3 separate regions of the Homo sapiens genome follow, and regions 1 and 3 are each linked to region 2. The links are contacts of gene promoters, found by promoter capture Hi-C in blood cells and fetal thymus (Javierre and others, 2016). All regions are on one chromosome and are shown on one strand. Each heading gives the region's core, a stretch centred on a gene start or on the middle of the fragment in contact. The rest is flanking DNA. Distances are from core to core; before and after follow the strand shown. Region 1 overlaps CMC1 (C-X9-C motif containing 1). Region 2 holds the start of TOP2B (DNA topoisomerase II beta). Region 3 overlaps AZI2 (5-azacytidine induced 2).

Region 1 (2,839 bases), core at 56-2,555, 2.6 Mb after region 2:
GAAACGGAGTCTCACTGTCGCCCAGGCTGGAGTGCAGTGGCGCTATCTCGGCTCACTGTAGCCTCCGCCTACTGGGTTCAAGCAATTCTCCCACCGCAGCCTCCTGAGTAGCTGGGATTACGGGCGCCCGCCACCACGGCCGGCTAATTTTTGTATTTTTAGTAGAGATGAGGTTTCGCCGTGTTCGCCATGCTGGTCTGGAACTCCTGACCTCAAGTGATCTGCCTGACTTGGCCTCCCAAAGTGCTGGGATTACAGGTGTGAGCCACCGCACCCAGCCTAATTATGGTACTTCTGAACTTGAAGTGACCTTTAAAGTAATCTCATACGGATGAGGAGACTGAGAATGAGAGAGGTTAAAGATTTCCATATATCTACACTTTTTGAATTTAGACAAGGAAATTTGGGAAAAAAGTCTTCATACTTGCTCTCTTCACTTGCTTACCTTCCAGTTACTCATAAGCCACTCCAATCTTGTGTTGTACCCAAGGCCACACAGCTAGTTGCTGGTAGAGTCAAGTCTGGTTAGAACCTAGGTAATTTCATTTCCAGTCCAGTGCTGTAGACCATGCCACCTTTTGAGTATTGATTAAACAAAGACTTGTTGAGTGTCTGGTATATGTCCCATATTGTTCTGGACCCTAGGGAACAGTAGTACATAGGACAAACAAAATTCCTGCTCCCAATAAAGCTTATCTAGTGGTAGAAAAAACAATTAACACCCCCTTTTCCCCCTACACAGACACGTGCGTGGGCACACACACATACACACACACATTTTTACAGATTGTGATAAACATGAAGAAAATAATGTCATGTGGTAGATGGTGAAGAGATTAGTCAGTGAAGAGCTTTATGAGGAAGTGTCATTTGAATTGGAATCTGAGGGATGAGAGGAAGCTAGGCAGAGTGTGCTTGGCCATCAGGTAGCAAATACTTAAAATATTTAACTTGAACGTGGGTCAGAGTGTGGAGGGGATCCATAAGGAAAGATATTGGGAAAGTAGGTAGTCACTAAATGCCTAGATATTGCAGAGGCTGCAAGTCCTCAAAGGCTGGCTGTGATAATAAAGCATTTGGATTTTTTCTAATGGCATCAAATGCCTTTAGAATCTTTTAAAGAGGGCAGTAACATAATTTATGTGTTTATTATCCTCGCTACAGTGGTAGCATGCATTGTAGAGGGGTCAGGTCATAAGTGGAAGAAGGGAGACAGGTTAAGGGATAGGAGCAGTAGTCCAGGCCAAATATGTTTGTATCTTAGCCCAAGATGGTAATAGACAGATGGAAAGAAATATACAGCGTCATGAGGAGAAATTGACAGGACCTGTGGTTGCATTGAATAAGGATGGTGAGAGAAAGGGAGGAAACAGTGGGCACCGTGGCTCATGCCCTTAATCCCAGTGCTTTGGGAGGCCGAGGCAGGCAGATCGCATGAGCTCAGGAGTTTGAGACCACCCTGGGCAACATGGTGAAAATCCATCTCTACTAAAATACAAAAAATTTAGCCAGGCATGGTGGCACACGCCTGTAGTCCCAGCTACTCAGGAGGCTGAGGAATGAGAATTTGAGCCTGGAAGGCAGCGGTTGCAGTGAGCCGAGGTTGCGCCACTGCACTCCAGCTTGGGCCACAGAGTGAGACTTCGTCTCAAAAAAAAAAAAAAGAGGAAATAGGGATAATTCCAGTTTTTGTACGTCAGCAGCTGGGTGGAAGGTCATGGTCAAATCTAACAATGTGATTATTGGAAACTTCATCAAAGGAAGGAATGGAAGCAATGGAGAGTAAAAAAGTGGAGTCAGCAAGTAGGAAGGTTTTTTTTTTTTTCCCTAAATTGTTTTGTCTGTTTAAATTCCAGAATAAAATGTATGGAAGCCAGTTTTTTTTTTTTTTTAATTTCGTGTTTATTTGGTTCATACGTTGAAGCTTAGTTTCACATTTTGATGTTTTACTGCTTTGTACAGCCCACGATGGTATTTGCCCATATTGAGTAAGTGAATAATAGATACACCAATTGAGGTTCATTTAGCAAAATCTGTTTTCCTATTGGTTTATTTTGTATTTTCTGTGATCTTTATAGAAGCTTGATTTTCATTTGGCAGCAACTTTTAATTAACTTTGTAGGGTCTCTGTTTTCCTCAAGAAACTGTGAACCCAGCGAAAAAATGCAGGTTACATGCTTATACATAGTTTTATTTACATTATTTTCCTTTTTTTTGTTAATGTAGCAGTAATAACAGCAATCTTTGCTTATTGCCATGTTCCGGACAAATTTTCAGACATGATTATATTCTCAGATGATGGCCCATAGGAACCTGCACCTGATAAATTTGATTTTTCACTTTCTCTATCAACTAAAGTAATTCCTTTCTCCCTTCTTTGACCTTTCCCCTTTTTAGTTAGGTTCTCTTCCCTCTGTCAACATAGATTCATTCTCTACTTATGCAGAATGGGGCATGGCAGCCTAAGGGAAGTTTCCTTAATCAGGTGTGTGTGTGTCCCTGTGTCCTTCTATTGCTGTTTTTTTCCGGGAACTTAATAAAAGGAGGAAGATGGGACAGAGATAGGGCTTAGGGGGTGGAAAGTGGGTTCAAGAATTTCATGACATTCCATGAGAAGGTGTTTAAGGTATATGTGTCTTGGGAAGATTTAATTATGGATGTTCTTGGAACATTTGGGTTGCAGTACTCCAAGTTGGGGTTCTTTCAGTGGTTCCTGTGGGAATGTAGGTAAATTACCTTTAGGGGTACAGGAACAGTACTAGCCCTTACATTTACTAGAAAATTTTAAGTTAGACATGTAAACAAACTTGAAGAATCTTTTTTGAGCATTGTATGTTTA
Region 2 (2,892 bases), core at 1-2,500:
GTATTAACTGCTGTGAAAGTCATCCCCAATGCGCTCTCAATTGAGCGCATTGAATGAGGCTTTCCAAATTGAAGTGCAAGTTGCTGTAGAAATCCCAATGCATTCTTCTTTGAGATTAAAGCCCCAGAAAGAGCTGCATTTAGAATACACACACACACACACCCCTTTTCCCAGGGTTTTCTTGAACTACATTTGGAGAAAATGCTGCCCCACACAGACACACTTGCATTATCGCCATCCCCACCATTTCAGGTTCGGCTGCCCCGGAAGAGTCTGGTTAAAAAGAAAAGAGAGGAAGCGGGGGCTGTATGTTACGTTCGCGGTTTTGTCCCCCCAAAGTTTCAAGTACACATTACGCTCTGGCAGTCAGGACTTCCAGAGACGTACAGAGAAAGAAAGAAAGAAAAGGCGCGGGGAGCGGGCTGGAGGATTCTGCAAGCACAGGCCCCTATGGAGCGCCCGTTCGGGGGACGGGATTTCCCTCCCTTTCCCCTCCCCCGCCCGTTCGGAATTCCGCCCCCGCCGCGGGCCCGGAACAATGCAGCCGCCCGTCCCGGGGACCAGCCACTTACCACCCAGGTCAGTGCCCCGTTGCCGCCGCCCACGCCGGCTCCCGCGCCGCAGCCACCCGACTTGGCCATGGCGAGTGCCTCCAGCTCACAGGCCCTGAGGCCGCAGCCGCCGCTCCCGCCTCCCTGCGGGCCGCTGGGCCCCGCCGCTCCGCACCCACCGCTCCACTCGCCGCACTCCTAGCCGCGCCGACCCCCGCGCCCCATCGCGAAGATCCGGAGCGGACGTCCAGCCGAGCCCGCTGAGGAGGCCGCGCCGCCGGCTGCCCTCAAACTCGAGGCGCGGCGTCCGCGTCGCCCGGGCCTAGCGCGGCGGCTGAGGAGAAAGCAGGGAGCGACCGGCGGCGGCCGAGCGGCGGCGTTGCCTTCTCGCCCGCCCGCGGGCGCCGCTGCAGGCCGGGCTGAAGCCCGGGCGTGCGAGCCGCGAGGGCGGCCGGGGAGCCCGAGGCGCTCGGACGTGGCGAGGACGCAGAGGTGCCTTGTCCTTCTCACACTCCGCGAAGGCCAGCCACTCGAGTCGCCAGAGTAGTCGTCCCGGTCGCCGCCGCTGCTTCAAAGGCAGCCTTAGCCTCGCTGCAGCCCCGATTTCCTCACACACACACACCGAGAGGGACAATAAACAGAGCCGCCGCCGCCGCCGCCACGGTCACCTCCCTCTTGTCCGGCATAACACCGCACACACACATTTGCACACCGGGGAGAGAGGGAGGGCGCGGCGGCCGCCCCCGCTGTCAGTCAGCGCCATGCTGTCCAATCCGGGCCTTGTCGCCACAGCCTCTCGGCCAATCCCAAAATTCCAAGCCCCCTGGAGGGGCGGGACCCGAGGGGGGAAACGTCATTGCGGGTAGCAACCGAAAGGAAGACTTGGGGTTTTTGTTTGTGTGTGTGTCTGTGGGTTTTCCATTTGAAGGGAGAGCAGGGGCTGCTTCAAGGGTCAATTGAGGGCGGCAAAGGGAAAGGGTCGAATTGGCCTCGGGTCGATTGTAATCCTCCAAGCGTGCTGTTTACTCTGAGACCTAACCGGGAATCCGAAGCGTTTGCCTGGGGCCTCTAAGGATGAGGATGGGGGCGGGGTGGGGATGGGGGTGGCAGGAAGAAGCCGGGGGCCGTCCCAAAGGGAAATTATTTTAAAAGAGCGGTTGTAAACCGCAGGCAAGACGTTGTAGACCACTGGTGCAAGGAGGCCCCGTGACCCGGCCTCCCCAAGGGCCTAAGTGGACGCTGCTGTCGAAAAAAATCATCTCAGACCTTCTCCATCTCCTTCTTCCGTCTCCTCCCCTCACCCCAAAAGAGCATATGGTCAGTTTCAAGAAAACTACATATGAAAAGCTTAAATGATAAGGGACACACAGAGAATGTTCTAGGGAAAGAATGCAGGGTGGGTTGAGTGTTCTATTTCTACTCTTTGTTGACCTTTCTTCTCTGAACAATGCAGAGATGTCACTGTCACTTTTCTCATCTGTCCAGAACTGTGCCCCCTGCCTCTAAGAGGGCATGCTTAATTTTTAAAACTGTTTTCAGTGGAATTTTCAAATGCACAGTAAGGAATAATTTCATTCACATTAAAGCTTTCTAAGAATGAAAATTACCAATACAGCAACATCACAGTCTTTGGCAGATGGAAGATGGCTTTACTTCTTCCTGTTTTTCAGTGTAATTCCACTCAAGTATTTATTGGGCGCACACTCTGCCACGCTGTGCCAGGCTCTGCGATGGGTTCAAAGTAAAAACAAGGCCCCTGATTTCAAACCATTTATAACCTGGCTTGTGAGACAGACTAAAAGGGAGCCAACGATCACCAAAATGAGTACTTGAAGGCATGAAGTGCCACCAAAGAGTTGTGATGAAAGCTTTTTATAAAGATGAAAACAGTATTACTGTTTTTTGAAGAGGTGTTTTTGTGAACTTCCAACTGTGCATTTCCTCTCAAGGGAAAACAAAAATGTCTCAGGTCACATCTTTAAACTGCATTCTGAGTCTAGAGGTGGAGAACTCTGAAACATGGAAATAATTTAAACATAGTTTTTTTAATTAGCTCTCTGATGGCCATGTAACTTTGCCATACTAGGGACTTCAGAACAGTGAAGCCTTTCTTTACCTTGAACTTGGGGTGCAAACTTTTCTGAACCTGACCAAGTATCCATAGCCTTGTTATTTAACTTCCCTGAGCCTCAGTTTAGTGCTTGTTAAAATGATCTTGTGTTCTTACTGTGAGTTTGCATCTCCAAGTACACATGTATTTTGTTTGAAAAGGGGTAATTTTAAAGGCAATGAGTTTTTTTTATGAAGATGTACTAGGTAGAAGCTAAGCTATAAAATACAT
Region 3 (3,092 bases), core at 189-2,688, 2.7 Mb after region 2:
GGGTATATTGATACAATAATGTCACATTTTATACAACATGATAGCTAGTCATTTTTAAGACAATATGAGTAGTCAGACTGGTTTACCTATTGATATGCTACCTTTTTATTTATAAATCAAAAGTTGCATATATTATGTAAGAAAACAATGGCATAAAAGGATTTTTCAAGTTTTATACCATTATTCTATATATTTATTCTATACACTATAAACATTACTTAGAATACGCGGAAAAGCAGCATCAAATTGCTTATCTGTCCTAAAAGTTATGTAAGAAATAGCCATATATTAAAACACACAATGTGCTAGCACCACATATATGTATCAACTTTTATTGTTTTAAAATAACTGTCATTTAAATTTGTTATAAAATGGAAAATTAAAATTTTAATTACTATCCCTGCAAAAATTAATATGAAATCACAAGCATGAGAATATTAATACTTATCATATTAGTCTGTACAAACCAGACTTCTGGAGAGTAAAAGCTACAGGTCCAGGGAAAATGAGATCATAGAAAGGAAACAATACAAGGCAGATATCCCATTATATTTATTAATATAATGAAAGGAAAACTGTTAGCAAAGTAAAAAGTAGGCTATGTGTTGCCTTTGGTGTTATTGCTACGCAAGCATCCTTTATAAAATGTATTTCTACAGAGAAGTAAAGGGAGCTGTGGTAATCAGTCTCATAATAAAGATTCAGTTTTAAACACTTTTGTTGCAATGAAATGGCTGTGTGTGTGTATCCAAATCAGCTGGCCCATGAAGTCTGATTTTCTAGATAAATGGTAAAAGTGTAACTGGCTATTATTCTATTTGACAAACTAGACCAAGCTAGTTATATCATTTAACATTTGAAGAAACTTAACATTATACTGAGTCTTATTTATCATAATTTAAATGCTCTTAAAATAATAAATCTTTGTTAGCATTAATCTTTAAAAAATAAGTGCCATGAGCAGAATATTGTTATCAAAAATTAAAATTACCAAAGACTAGATAGTATTTTAAATAGTCTAGCAGAAACTGAACTTTCAAAACTTAACAAACATCAAAACACTGTCCAAAGACAAGCTTAAGTGGACTTCTCTCAGTGATGAAAATCAGTAATAAATGTATTCCACAGGGACATTCCATAAATAAATTTTGCTTTTCCAAGGGCATTCTAAGAAGCTGGAGATGACTGAGGGCAGTGTTTGACAAAGGTGTGGACCACTGCCTTAGAATTCCTCTGCATTCTGTTAAAAAATACTGATTCCTAGCTTCCACTGCAGATCTATGCAAATCAGAATATCTGGGGTGAAAAACTGCAAAGTGCACTCTGAATAAGCACCCAGGTGATTTTAAGTCATATTCCAATTTGAGAACCACTCATCAGAAAGAACAAAGCCAAGCAGTTACCACGTAATTTACAGAATTCCAATTCTTAGTATCCTTGAACATTTGTGGGCACAGTTAGTTCTATGTTATGAATTAGTAAACACCCTTTAGATTTTATTTTTAATATTATAGAAAGTAATTTCACATTCATCATCTCATCACAATATAGTGGGGTGTTAAATAAAGCACATTTATAGGCAAATGTATCTATATGTACTCATGCAAACATTTTATATATTTGGCAATTAAATTTTGTTTCTCCTTAGAGGTTTACTTAAATATAAAAAGCGAATTAGAAAAGATTGAGGTAAACACTATTGACAATTATTTTTGAGAACAATGAAATTTCCAAGAATGATAAAAAAGAAAGGGCACAATTTGTCAGATAAAGTAGGTAGAAATAAGAACAGTACTACCTGAAGCTTGGGGAGAAACACAGGAAAAAAAAGATTCAAACATTATTTATTAGAATTATTTTAGAAGATCTTAAATTTCAGTCTTCATCATGGCAATCAACACCAAGAGAACTCTCAGTTGTTCATATGCTACGTATGTCAAAGTTTGGGATACTAGAAAACATATCTGCTGATATCAGACTGGTCTTTTTTCTAGGAATAAATATGATTATCCTGTCATATTTCATCATCTTTATATCTGCCATTTTCATATTTCATCATCTTTATATCTGCCATTTATTGATCACTTACCATATGCCAGTCACTAGTGCTTTCACATGCATTTTTCTACCACTTAGCTAAGTACTGTTATGAAGAAAGTCTTAGAAAAGTTAAATACCTTACCTATAGCTACACAGCTAATCAGTGGCAAAGGTGAGATGTGAACCTAAGTAAGCTGTCAGAAGTCTATGGTCTTAATACAACATTCAAAGAGGCAATACAAAAGGGATTCTGGTTATCCTAAGAATATGGACAAGGCATAACTATGTCAAAAAGAACACTTTCCCAGGATTCAGAAACACAGATTCTAGTCTAGGATTTGCAACCCTGATTATAGTTTAGTTCGCTTTACCTCTCTAGATCAAAATTTTCCCACCTATACAGAATGATAGGGTTAGACTACATCACTAAGATGCCACCTTACTAAACTGTGAAGGCAAAAGTTTAATACAAATACAGAACAATGGCAACCTAAACAGAGAGAAGGGAATTCACATTTATGCCAGGAACTGCATAAAAGGTATGGTACACACATTATCTCAAGTCCACACCAAACTTGGCAAGAAAGGTATTAGCACCATGATAAATGGGGAAATTGAGGCTCAAAGAGGTGAGGTAAATTCACCTCACCACAGCAGTATGTGACAAAACTGAAGTTTGAATCAAGGCCTATATGGTAGGCTCTTTATTCCATATTGCCTCCTGAAGTAAATCATATTTAGAATTTTCACCACCTTTCTACCTCTGAAAAGTTAGGATATTCCCGAACCTATTTCGTACAATCAGTCAAAATACTATGGAGCAAGGATTAAGTCTTACGAAGACGAACAGACCAATGCTTATTCCCCTTTCTCAATTTGTAAAATAGCCTAACTAGTTTATAAAGAAGGGTCATCAAGTACCTCTTTTCAAAACATCATCTCTTAATCTGTGTACATTAGCAATAAAAAGCCCTGTAATTCAATAAATGTCCAAAAATGTACTCAACATTAGATATACAATATGAAGAAAAACTCCAGTTCCATTTTTATGA

The links. The method cuts DNA at HindIII sites, captures the fragments that hold promoters and counts their contacts. A CHiCAGO score of 5 or more calls a contact.
Region 1: a contact is called between a fragment that was not itself captured here and the fragment with the promoter of TOP2B in region 2, in 1 of 17 cell types (activated CD4 T cells). The highest score is 6.3, in activated CD4 T cells.
Region 3: a contact is called between a fragment that was not itself captured here and the fragment with the promoter of TOP2B in region 2, in 3 of 17 cell types (fetal thymus, total CD8 T cells and naive CD4 T cells). The highest score is 6.0, in fetal thymus.

Annotation. Positions count from the first base shown.
Region 1 is chr3:28,243,076-28,245,914 of GRCh38, forward strand. All of the region lies in intron 1 of CMC1 (C-X9-C motif containing 1), which reads left to right. Among named protein-coding and RNA genes, the nearest start is that of CMC1, 2.9 kb to the left of the region's middle. The HindIII fragment of the contact is 1,233 bases long and covers 690-1,922 here.
Region 2 is chr3:25,663,657-25,666,548 of GRCh38, forward strand. TOP2B (DNA topoisomerase II beta) reads right to left here and starts at 1,251. Exons shown (of 36, transcript NM_001330700.2): 1 at 573-1,251. The coding sequence starts at 641. It overlaps MIR4442 (microRNA 4442), which reads right to left and starts at 1,283; the gene lies at 1,217-1,283. RefSeq lists enhancers at 1-30, 988-1,551 and silencers at 318-506, 461-820. The HindIII fragment of the contact is 4,216 bases long and covers 1-1,896 here.
Region 3 is chr3:28,343,852-28,346,943 of GRCh38, forward strand. The region is part of intron 1 of AZI2 (5-azacytidine induced 2); the gene reads right to left. Among named protein-coding and RNA genes, the nearest start is that of ZCWPW2, 3.3 kb to the right of the region's middle. The HindIII fragment of the contact is 728 bases long and covers 1,075-1,802 here.